Linked DNA regions of Homo sapiens: all the other regions are linked to region 2. The links are contacts of gene promoters, found by promoter capture Hi-C in blood cells and fetal thymus (Javierre and others, 2016). All regions are on one chromosome and are shown on one strand. The core of a region is centred on a gene start or on the middle of the fragment in contact, and the rest is flanking DNA. Distances in the headings are between cores, read along the strand shown. Region 1 has its middle 26 kb from the start of SRY. Region 2 holds the start of ZFY (zinc finger protein Y-linked). Region 3 has its middle 12 kb from the start of RPS4Y1.

Region 1 (3,587 bases), core at 217-2,716, 120 kb before region 2:
AAGGCTCCATGGGCATGGGACCTGCTGAGCCAGGCATGGGATATAATCTGCTGGTATGCCGTTTGCTAAGACTGTTGGAAAAGCACAGTATTTGGGCAGGTGTGTCCCAATTTTCCAGGTACAATCTGTCATGGCTTCCCTTGGCTAGGAAAGGAAATGCGATGCCCCACCCTGCTTCAGCTTACCCTCCATGGGCTGCACCCACTGTCCAACCAGTTCCAATGAGATGAACCAGTTACCTCAGTTGGAAATGCAGAAATCACTCTCTTCTGCATTGATCATGCTGGGAGCTGCAGACCAGAGCTCTTCCTATTCAGCCATTTTGGAATGGACCACACTTGTCTTTTTGATATTTGTTGGCTTAAAGTCTGTTTTATCAGAGACTACAATCGCAACCCCTAGTTTTTTTCTGCTTTCCATTTGCTTGATACATTTTCCTTTATCCTTTTATTCTGAGTAAAGTGTGTACTCTTGAATACAGTACACCGACAGGTCTTGACTCTATCCAGTTTCCCAGGCTGTGTCTTTTAATTGGGTCATTTAGCCCTTTACATTTAAGGCTAATATTGTTATTTGTAAATTTGATCCTGTCATCTTGATGCTAGCTGGTTATTTTGCACACTAGTTGATGCTATTTCTTCACTCTGTCATTGGTCTTTATAATTTCATGTGTTTTGCAGTGGCTGATACTGGTGTTTCCTTTCCATATTTAGTGCTTCCTTTAGGAGCTCTTGTAAGGCAGGCCTGGTGGTGATAAATTCTTCCAGCACTCATATGTCTGAAAAGGATTTTATTTCTCCTTTGATTATGAGGCTTAGTTTGGCCAGATATGAAATTCTGGGTTGAAAATTTTTTTCTTTAAGAATGTTGAGTATTGACCCCTACTCTCTTCTGGCTTGTAGGGTTTCTGCTGAGTATTCCACTGTTAGTCTGATAAGCTTCCCTTTGGAGGTGATCTGACTTTTCTCTCTGCTGCCCTTAACATTTTTTCCTGCATATGGACCTTATAGAATCTGATGATTGTGTGTCTTGGGGTTGATCTTCTTGTAGTATATCTTAATGGTGTTCTCTGTATTTCCTGAATTTGCATGTTGGCTTAGAGTAGCCATGGTTAAAAATCTAATGAAAGTTTATAGTTAACAAGGATATTTGGATATTTCATTTACATATAGCATTTTAAGATAAACACAAGAATAATGACTGATATTAGAGATCTATGAATTTATATAATTTTGAATTTTTTTTTTTTGAGATGGAGTCTCACTCTGTCACCCAGGCTGGAATACAGTGTCACAGTCTTGGCTCACTGCAAGCTCCGCATCCCAGGTTCACACCATTCTCCTGCCTCAGCCTCCTGAGTAGCTGGGACTACAGGCACCTGCCACCACGCCCAGCTAATTTTTTGTATTTTTAGTAAAGATGGGGTTCACCATGTTAGCTAGGATGGTCTTGATCTCCTGACCTTGTGATCCACCCATCTTGGCTTCCCAAAGTTCTGGGATTATAGGCTTGAGCCACCGTGCCCAGCCTAATTTTGAAATATTTATATTAACCCGTAAGTGCAATGAAAGGAAGATCTAGTATTGGTCAGGTGCGCAGGCTCATGCCTGTAATCCCAGTACTTTGGAAGGTCAAGACAGGTGGATCACTTGAGGGTCAGCAGTTCAACACCCGCCTGGCCAACATGGTAAAACCTCATCTCTACTAAAAATACAAAAAGTAGCTGGGTGTGATTGTGGGTGCCTGTAATCCCAGCTAACTTAGGAAGCTGAGGCAGAAGAATCGCCTGAACCCAGGGGGAGAAGGTTGCAGTGAGCCGATATCTTACCACTCTACTCCAGCCTGAGAGACACATTGAGAATACATCTAAAAAAAAAAAAGATCTAGTATTACATATTTCTGTCTCAGTGCAGTTGTGTTGCTGTAAAGGCATATCTGATTCTGTGTAACTTACAAAGAGGTTCATGTAGCTCACAGTTCTATGGGCTATATATGAAGCTTGGAATTAACATCAGCTTCTGGTGACAGCTTCAGGCTGCTTCCACTCATGGAAAGGAAAGGGGAGGCAGCCTCTGAAGAGATTATATGGCCAGAGAGGGAACTAGAGAAATGACAGGGGCAAGGGGAAAGAGAGGGAGGGGCCAGCCTCTTTTTAACCATCAACTCTTGAGGGAGATGATAGAGTGAAAACTGATTCGCTGTCCTCTCCCAGAAAGGGCATTAATCTGTACACAAGGGACCCACCTCCATGACCCAAAGATGATCCATTAGGCTGCACCTCCAGCGTTGGGGATAATATTTCAACAGGAGGTTTGGAGGGTCAAATATTCAAACAATAGCCATTTCTTATGTAATTTATCAAATAGGCCTAATCATCTAATATCTCCAAAAGGTGAGAGATATGTCTTTTGAGTCTTTTCAGGGGCCCAACTGGAAAATTCAAACATTAATTCTAGGTTAAAGGGATTTACATTTAGCATTTGATTTTGGGCAAGTTTGCCAAAGATGTTAAAAGGCACAGAACACTTGATTGAAACAAACTCGTAGGTCACTTAAAAAAAAAAGTAGTCATTTTTTAACCAGAAGGATAATCAAAAAACAAATTTACCAGAGTTAGCCATGGTATCATGGCTATCCACATTATCCACAAAAAATACCAAAACACATTATCTGCGAAAAACACAAAAATTAGCCAGGTGTGGTGTGTGCACCTGTAGTCCCAGTTACTTGGGAGGGTGAGGTGGGAGGACCACATGAACCCTGGAGATGGAGGTTTCAGTGAGTCAAGATCATGCCACCGCATTCCAGCCTGGGCAAGAGAGTGACAATTTGATTCAAAAAATAAATATATAAATAAGCAAGGAAATAAATAAATAAATAACATTGTTGTTGTTGTTTTCTTTTCAACTTTTATTTTAGGTTCAAGGGGTACGTGGGCAAGCTGGTTACATAGGTAAGTTGCATGTCATGGGTATTTTGTGTACAGATAATTTTGTTACTCAGGTAATCAGTGTGATATCTGATAGGTAGTTTTTCAATCCTCCTCAAGTAGGCCCTGGAGTTCTTAATTCATAGCTACCATTTATAAGTGAAGAACATGGGGGTATTTGGTTTACTGTTCCTGTGTTAGTTTGCTAAGGATTTTGGCCTCCAGCTCCATCCCTGATGCTACAAAGGCCATCATTTTACTTTTCTTTTTTCTTTTTTTACAGCTGCATAGTATTCCATGGTATATATGTACCACATTCTCTTTATGCAGTCCACCATCAATGGGCATCTAGATGATTCCATGTCTTTGCTATTGTGAATGGTGCTGTGATGAACATATGTGTACATGTGTCTTTATAACAGAACAATTTATGTTCCTTTGTGTATATCCCCAGTAATGGGATTGCTTGGTCAAACAGTAGTTCAAGTTCTTTGAGAAAACTCCAGTCTACTTTACACAGTGGCTTAACTAATTTACATTCCCATTATCAAGTGTGTAAACATTCCCTTTTCTCTGCAACCTCACCAGCATCTGTTATTTACTGACATTTTCATCATAGCTGTTCTGGGTGGTATGAGATGATATTTTATTGTGGTTT
Region 2 (3,758 bases), core at 300-2,799:
GGATCGCCCTATTTTCCAGGCTTGTCTCCAACTATCAGTTGAGCACAAGCTGATTTTATCTCAGCCTTCCAAAGTGTTTTGGAATTACAGGGGTGAGCCGCCTCTCATTTATCATTTTTGAAACAAAAGGTAACGACTTGAGAAAACAAGGTCAAACCAATGGTTTGAAAAGAGAATTGCTATCCAGCACTTAACTCATTATATCAACTATGTACCACTGGTTTTCCTTTCGTAAAGCATTTTATGATTTTTAGGTTTCTCAGTTAAGGACAAGATGATTTCTGAGTTTTAAAAATAGGTATGCTAGAAAACTGAAATACCTGGCCTCTACATTTAGAGATTACCGGCTCTGGCCCACAGGCTGCAGTGCAGTGGCTTGATCACAGCTGTCCGCCTGTATCTGCTGGCCTCAAGCGATACTCCAGCCTTGTCCTCCCAAAGCGCTCAGAGGTGAGCGACCGCGATAGGCATGTTTAACTTTTTAGTAGCAACTTTTAAACACAGTTTGGGTACCTAGTTTAATGGGAAATTAGAGTGCATTAAAACGTAAAGTAATGAAAACGCACAATACACGTTTTTGGAGTTCATCAGTACTATCTGTTTAATCAAATGCATTTTCCTCTCAGTCTCTAAAGCCTTTTTAAACTTTAAGAGGATAAATAATTTTGTAAGAAGACAATCCCAAAACCAATTGTTAGTTTACATTTATTAAAGGGTGTGCATAATTCATTGTTCATGAGACAATTACACAAAACTGACATTTCAAGGATGCCAAAAGATGAAACACTGCCATAAAGAACACACACTAGACATTACAAATCTTGGTCAAAATACCTACGTTAACGCAAAAAAAAAAATCAATTGGCTCAGTAATTGATTAGGATAATCCTCCCCTCCTCTTGCCTGTACACTGTGGCAAGTCCATTTACTTTCTTTTTTTTTTTTTTTAAAGCCAACAAAGGAGACAGTGGGGAATGCTATATGTCTGTATCTGCTTTCCTCCTCAACCCTAGGAATAAAGTAAACACGTTTACTGAGGGCGGGGGTCTAAGGGCCTGCAACAATGAGATCTGTCGCCTTGGCTAGGACTGGCGCCGAGAGGCGATAGGTCTCGGGAGAGCCTGGCGCAGGGTGTGGGAGATTAGGAATCCCAGGTCCACCGGAGATGGCAGGGGGTGGCCTGGCCCGGTGCGGGGCCGCTTGCCTGCACGCAACCAACTAAGGCGGTGGTGCGCAAGTAGTGGTGACGGCGGGCGCGCGGAGAAAAGGAACGTTGTGACGGAAACTCCAGCTGCCGGAGACCCCACCGCAGTGAGGTCACTGGACTCCCCGGACTCGGGGCGTGACCGGCGCCGACCCGGGGCGCCGAGAGGCCCACCGGGCGGAGGGGGCCCAACTACCATCCCGCATTTTCCTGGGTCTCTCTCCCGGGCGGTGACGTGACGTGCTGACGGCGGGCCCGTGCCGGGGAGCTGGGCCGCTTTTTGTCAGCTCCGAACTCGGCCCCTCCTCCCTCCCTCCGCCCGCCCTACCAGCCGGAGCCCGGCCCAGTGCTCCAGAGAAAGGCCGTCCTGCAGCACCCGCCGCTGTCGCCGACCGCCCGCACATCCGTCGGGTGAGTCCCGCGTGCCCCCGCGGCCGCGGGGCCTAGTGCGCGCGCAGTAACCTGTTTGTGGCCTGGTCGGCGTCCCGTAGGGCGCCCTCCCGCGCTAGGCCGGCCGGCGTGGCGCTCGGCGCCGAACAGGCCCCGAGGAGGCCGCAGTTAGGCCTAGTGATTATCCAGTTGCCCTGAGCGGCTGCGGAGGTGCGCTCCATAAGCGGGCAGGGTGGGAAAAGTTCGCCCGTTTGTCCGGAAGGCAGTTGATGGACCTGGGGTCGACACCACTGCGGACGCAGGGCACGGCACGGGGGCGAGAAGGCGAAGGCTGCAGGCGTGAGGTGAAGGCCGGAGGCCTGCTGGGCCTATTTTCGCTATGTAAATGTCCGCGAAGGGGAGGAGGGACGGGGGGGCAAGATGGCGGCTGCTAGGCGCCTGCTGCTGGGGAGTATTGAGAGTGTTGTCGGGAGGCGGAGCCGCCATCTTGAAGGCGGTATCTGGAAAAAAAATTCGGTTATGATCCTTGAGGCGGGGATGGGGAAAAGGACGGCGGCGGCGGCGGCAGCGCAGCCTCCGGCGCGACGGCGTGTCTGCGCAACAGGGCGTGCTCGTTCCCTTGGCGGCCCTTGCCTTTGTCGCCATATGCGCGCGTACGTTCCAGACGCCTGCGGCAGCGCCACCTTTCGGCCTTCCCCTCACAGCCCATCCTTGGCTGGGTGCAGTGTCGGCTACGCTTTAGGTGACATGCCGCAGGCGTCCGTTCGGGCGCCGGGGTCATTTCGCCCCTCAGCGCTCCCGGCTCTGTGCCCTTCCGAGAGTCTACAGCCACCCGTTTCAGCAGGTGGCAATTCGGGCATCTAGGCTCACGAGAGCACATAAATTCCAGAAAATTTTATTTTCCCCTAATTAAAGTCATTATGTGGCTGTTCGGGGACCTTCGATGCGCTTATTTTTCAACCATCATTGCCTCTTCGAGGATCTGCAAAATAGAACTGGAATTTATTATGAAAAAGTTATTAGGCACTCGTCCAATAGACAGTACAGTACAAATTATACAGCACGAGGGCAGAGGAATAAAATTTCCCCAAGGCGACTTTTCCCATTTATGTGGAAACACTTTTTTGATGAGCTGTATTTAAACGAGCGAGCTTTTTTTTAGTCCGTGTACTTTTTTTGAGTAAGAGATGGAAAATAGGCAGAAGAGGTATTTTTCTTTTTGAAAGACAATTCATGCATTACTTGTAGGTTCATATACCCATGATGACATTGAGATTTTATTTGAAATTTCTTATACAGTTTCATCTTCAAAATACTTTTGTTAGCATTTTGTACAACTTTGCTGGAAAATTGGAGCACAGTAATGTGAGCGTTGGACAGTGCTAGGTGCTAAGAAAGATTTAAAAGGCTCTTAATGCAGAACGTGACTGCAAAAAGTTTGCTGCGGGCATTTCACAGGAAGGCGAGGTTTCAGTTTGCAAAATTGGGAATCCTGAAGTAGATGGGGTTTAGCTAGGGTGAGGAATGGGAGTAGGAGAGGTCATTACAAGAATGAAATGTCTGTAGAAGATGCAAATATTTACGGTTTTGCTGGAGTGGATAATATAGATAGGAAAGGGATTCAAATTTAGGCTGTAAAAAGTAGATTTTGAAATACATTGGTGGCACACCTCAGTTTATGCTGAGCTCTGGCTGCAGCTGTTACAAAAGTTTAAAGGTTGAGAAGGATTGAGAGCTAGTATAAATTGATAAGTGTTTTCGTTACTGGATGGATGATCAAGAAGGTAGCTGTTTTTTGGCCAGGTGCGGTGACTCACGCCTGTAATCCCACCACTTTGGGAGGCCGAAGTGCGCGGATCACCCGAGGTCAGGAGTTCGAATCCAGCTCGAGACCAGCTGGAGACCGACATAGCGAAACCCCGTCTCTACTAAAAATACAAAAAAACTAGCAAGGCATGACGGCGCGCGCCTGTAATCCCAGGTACTTTGAAGGCGGAGGTTGCAGTGAGTCGATATCGTACCACTGCACTCCAGCCTGGGGAACAAGAGTGAGAGTCTGTCTCAAAAAAAAAAAAAAAAAAAAAAGAATGTGGCTATTTTTTGAATTAGTCTCTACTAGACTGCTGCTTCGTTTTTGCATCGAAAGTTTACCAAATAATCTTTT
Region 3 (3,970 bases), core at 863-3,362, 110 kb before region 2:
AAAACAGGATGTTCCTCTGTCACCCAGGCTGGAGTGCAATGGCAGGTCCATAGCTCACTGCAACTTCAAACTCCTGGGCTGAAGCAATCCTCTTGCCTTAGTCTTTCAAAGCACTGGGATTATAGGTGTGAGCCATCATGCCTGCCCATCTCTTTACATTTTCATTTCATGTTAATTTTATGCTATCAAATAACATAAAATGGCTCCATAGATGAAGCCACTTTTGATCTTTCACTCTTTGTGGCTAAGACTATGCATAGGTTTTCCATAGCAGCCTTGTCAATTAGGACCACCTCCTTTATGATCCTGGTTCTTGCTGTCATCTTTGAGACTGAGAAGTTGCAAATGGAACAACAGCAACAATGGCAGCTGCAGCAGACACTTCTCCAGCATTATAGTGCTGTAAGGAGGAATGTGTTCTGTCAGGGGCTCTACATTTACTTTCTGGAAAGACCTAGACTGTGACTGCTGTTTTTTGGGTTGCCATGGTGAGACAATGGCCTTAGTGCCACTCTGATTTACCATCATTTTGGGTTTCCCATCTCAGCACATCATTCATAGGTTATGTTGCAGATTTCTTTTTCTTTCTTTCTTTTTTTTTTTTGAAACGAAGTCTCGCTCTTGTCGCCCAGGCAGGAGTGTAGTGGTGTGATTTCGGCTCATTGCAATATCTACCTCCCCAGTTCAAGCGATTCTCCTGCCTTAGTCTCCTGAGTAGCTGGGATTACATGTGCGTGCCACACGCCCAGCTAATTTTTTTTGTATTTTTAGTAGAGACGGGGTTTCACAATGTTGGTCATGCTGGTCTTGAACTCCTGACCTCATGATCTACCCACCATGGCCTCCCAAAGTGCTGGGATTAGACGTGTGAGCCACCGTGCCTGGCCTGGTTGCAGATTTCTTTCAGCTCTTGTCATTCCAGTTGAAGAGAGACCATTCTAGAGATGGCTGCAGGCAAGCATTTAAAACCTTTGAGAGAACAACAGCACATCAGGGAGAGTATTATCATGACTATTGGGAGGATAATACCAAGAAGTTGGAGTATGCTCTTTACCTAAGGTACCACAAACCAGAACTTAAGATTAAATAGATCAAAGGATAAGCTAGATAAAGAGTCTACATACTTAACTAAGCAGTCTTTTCATTAATCTTCTACCAGTGAATTTTTCCAGTAGGCCATGAGTACCAGCAACTGGAGAGATACTTCTCTGTTCTGCCAATTCTGTGTGAACTCCAAAAGAGAATTTAAAGTTTGTTGCATCCTTTACAGTGGAATTTGCTATACAGCCTATCATGAGCATACATTTGTAATCATTGCTTCTTCTATTTTAAACCATGGAAGAAAAACCTAACAAATGATGCCTTTCAGGAAGAGTGAAGGCCTCCTGGTAATGTTCTCTTTAACCCATGATGTGGGTTAAGAGGAATGAACCAATATTTTGTTTCTGATTGATTATGAGGCAATGTATGTACCATTAAAGTTTCTTACTGACATTGGGCCTTTATCTTGTATCCACCAAAGTATAAAGTTATCCATGTATAAGGCTGGCTGTAAACACATTCACAAATAAAAGTACACCCCATAAGTGCATATAAGAGACCTCCTTTCCATTTCTATTGTTCATAGAGCCATAGCAAGATAAAATTTTCAAAGATAAGTTTCATGATAGTAGAAGTCTTAATCTGTGAACTTTAGAAAAGTTGCTTACATCAAAGACAGCATGCTCTTCTGGGGAGAAACCTCCCTGGTTAGTTTTACCTTAAGGGTTCCAATGGATGTACAGTTCCAAGAGTGTGGAGGGACCCTTCTCAGCTGTGAGATGATAAACCTAAAGTTCAAGGTCCTTAAGTTTTGCTGTAGTGTGGATGGCAAGGTCAGTTTTTCTTTGATGTTCTCAGAAGATCCAAACTGTAAAAAGCTTTCACAGCAAGGCTGCTGTGGTCAGACTGCCTCTCTAGATTCCTTCTCTCTGGGCGTGGCATCTCTAAAAAAAAAAGGCAAGAGCCCCAGTCAGGGGCTTATAGACCAAACCCCCATCACCCTGGGACAGAATACCTGGGGGAAGGGGTAGCTGTGGGCAGCTTCTACAGACTTAAATGTTCCTGCCTGTCAGCTCTGAAGAGAGCAGCGGATCTCCTAGCACAGCGTTTGAGCTCTGCTAAGGGTCAGACTACTGCCTCAAGTGGGTCCCTGACCCCTGTGTATCCTGACTAGGAGACTTCTCCCAGTAGGAGCTGACAGACGCCTCATACAGGAGAGCTCTGGTTGGCATCTCCTGTACGATGGTGGGTATCCCCCTAGAATGAAGCTTCCAGAGGAAAGAACAGGCAGCAACCATTGCTGTTCTGCAGCCTCTGCTGGTGACACCCAGGCAAACAGGGTCTGGAGTGGACCTCCAGCAAACTCCAGCAGGCCTGCAGCAGAGGGGCTGACTGTTAGAAGGAAAACTAACAAACAGAAAGGAATAGCACATCCATTCAGAGACCCCATCAGAAGGTCACCAACATCAAAGACCGAAGGTAGATAAATCCATAAAGATGGGGAGAAACCAGCGCAAAAAGGCTGAAAATTCCGAAAAGCAGAATGCCTCTTCTCCTCCAAAGGAACACAACTCCTCATCCTCAAGGGAAGAAAAATGGGTGGAGAATGAGTTTGATGAATTGACAGAAGTAGGTTTCAGAAGGTGGGTAATAACAAACTCCTCTGAACTAAAGGAGCATGTTCTAACCCAATGCAAGGAAACTAAAAACCTCGAAAAAAGGTTAGAGGAATTGCTAGCTAGAATAACCAGTTTAGAGAAGAACATAAATGACCCGATGGAGCTGAAAAACACAGCCCAAGAACTCTGTGAAGCATACACAAGTATCACTAGCTGAATCAATCAAGAGGAAGAAAGGATATCAGACATGGAAGATCAACTTAATGAAATAAAGATAAAAGACACGATTATAGAAAAAAGAATAAAAAGGAATGAATAAAGCCTCTAAGAAATATGGGACTATGTGAAAAGACCAAATCTACATTTGACTGGTGTACCTGAAAGTGATGGGGGAGAATGGAACCAAGTTGCAAAACACTCTTCAGGATATGATCCAGAAGAACTTCCCCAACCTAGCAAGGCAGGCCAACATTCAAATTCAGGAAATACAGGGAACACCACAAAGATATTCCTTGAGACGAACAACCCCAAGACATGTAATTGTCAGATTCACCAAGGTTGAAATGAAGGAAAACATGTTAAGGGCAGCCAAAGAGAAAGGTCGGGTTATCCACAAAGGGAAGCCCATCAGACTAACAGCAGATCTCTCTGCAGAAATCCTACAAGCCAGAAGAGAGTGGGAGCCAATATTCAACATTCTTTAAAAAAAAAGAATTTTCAACCCAGAATTTCATATCCAGCCAAAGTAAGCTTCATAAATGTAGGAGAAACAAAATCCTTTACAGACAAGCAAATGCTGAGAGATTTTTGTCACCATTAGAACTGCCTTACAAGAGCTCCTAAAGGAAGCACTAAACATGGAAAGGAACAACCAGTACCAGCCCCTGCAAAAACATGCCAATTGTAAAGACCATCAACACTATGAAGAAACTGCATCAACTAATGGACAAAATAACCAGCTAGCATCATAATGCCAGGATCAAATTTACACATAACAATATTAAACTTAAATGTAAATGGGCTAAATGTCCCAATTAAAAGACACAGACTGGCGAATTGGATAAAGACTCAAGACCCGTCGATGTGCTGTATTCATGAGACACATCTCATATGCAAAGACACACGTAGGCTCAAAATAAAGGGATGGAGGAACATACACCAAGCAAATGGAAAGCAAAAAAAGCAGTTTGCAATCCTAGTCTCTGAGAAAACAGACTTTAAACCAACAAAGATCAAAAGAGAAAAAGAACGGCATTACATAACGGGAAAGGGATCAGTGCACGCTAGTCACTTCCACTCAACATTGTGCT

The links. The method cuts DNA at HindIII sites, captures the fragments that hold promoters and counts their contacts. A CHiCAGO score of 5 or more calls a contact.
Region 1: a contact is called between a fragment that was not itself captured here and the fragment with the promoter of ZFY in region 2, in 11 of 17 cell types (M0 macrophages, M2 macrophages, naive CD4 T cells and 8 more). The highest score is 10.5, in M0 macrophages.
Region 3: a fragment that was not itself captured here is called in contact with the fragment with the promoter of ZFY in region 2 in 3 of 17 cell types (total CD8 T cells, naive CD8 T cells and naive CD4 T cells); the score reaches 7.9 in total CD8 T cells.

Annotation. Positions count from the first base shown.
Region 1 is chrY:2,811,414-2,815,000 of GRCh38, forward strand. No RefSeq gene overlaps it. Among named protein-coding and RNA genes, the nearest start is that of SRY, 26 kb to the left of the region's middle. The HindIII fragment of the contact is 1,060 bases long and covers 937-1,996 here.
Region 2 is chrY:2,933,832-2,937,589 of GRCh38, forward strand. ZFY (zinc finger protein Y-linked) reads left to right here and starts at 1,550. Exons shown (of 8, transcript NM_003411.4): 1 at 1,550-1,938. The HindIII fragment of the contact is 5,223 bases long and covers 1-3,758 here.
Region 3 is chrY:2,827,767-2,831,736 of GRCh38, forward strand. It overlaps the pseudogene TOMM22P2. Among named protein-coding and RNA genes, the nearest start is that of RPS4Y1, 12 kb to the right of the region's middle. The HindIII fragment of the contact is 390 bases long and covers 1,918-2,307 here.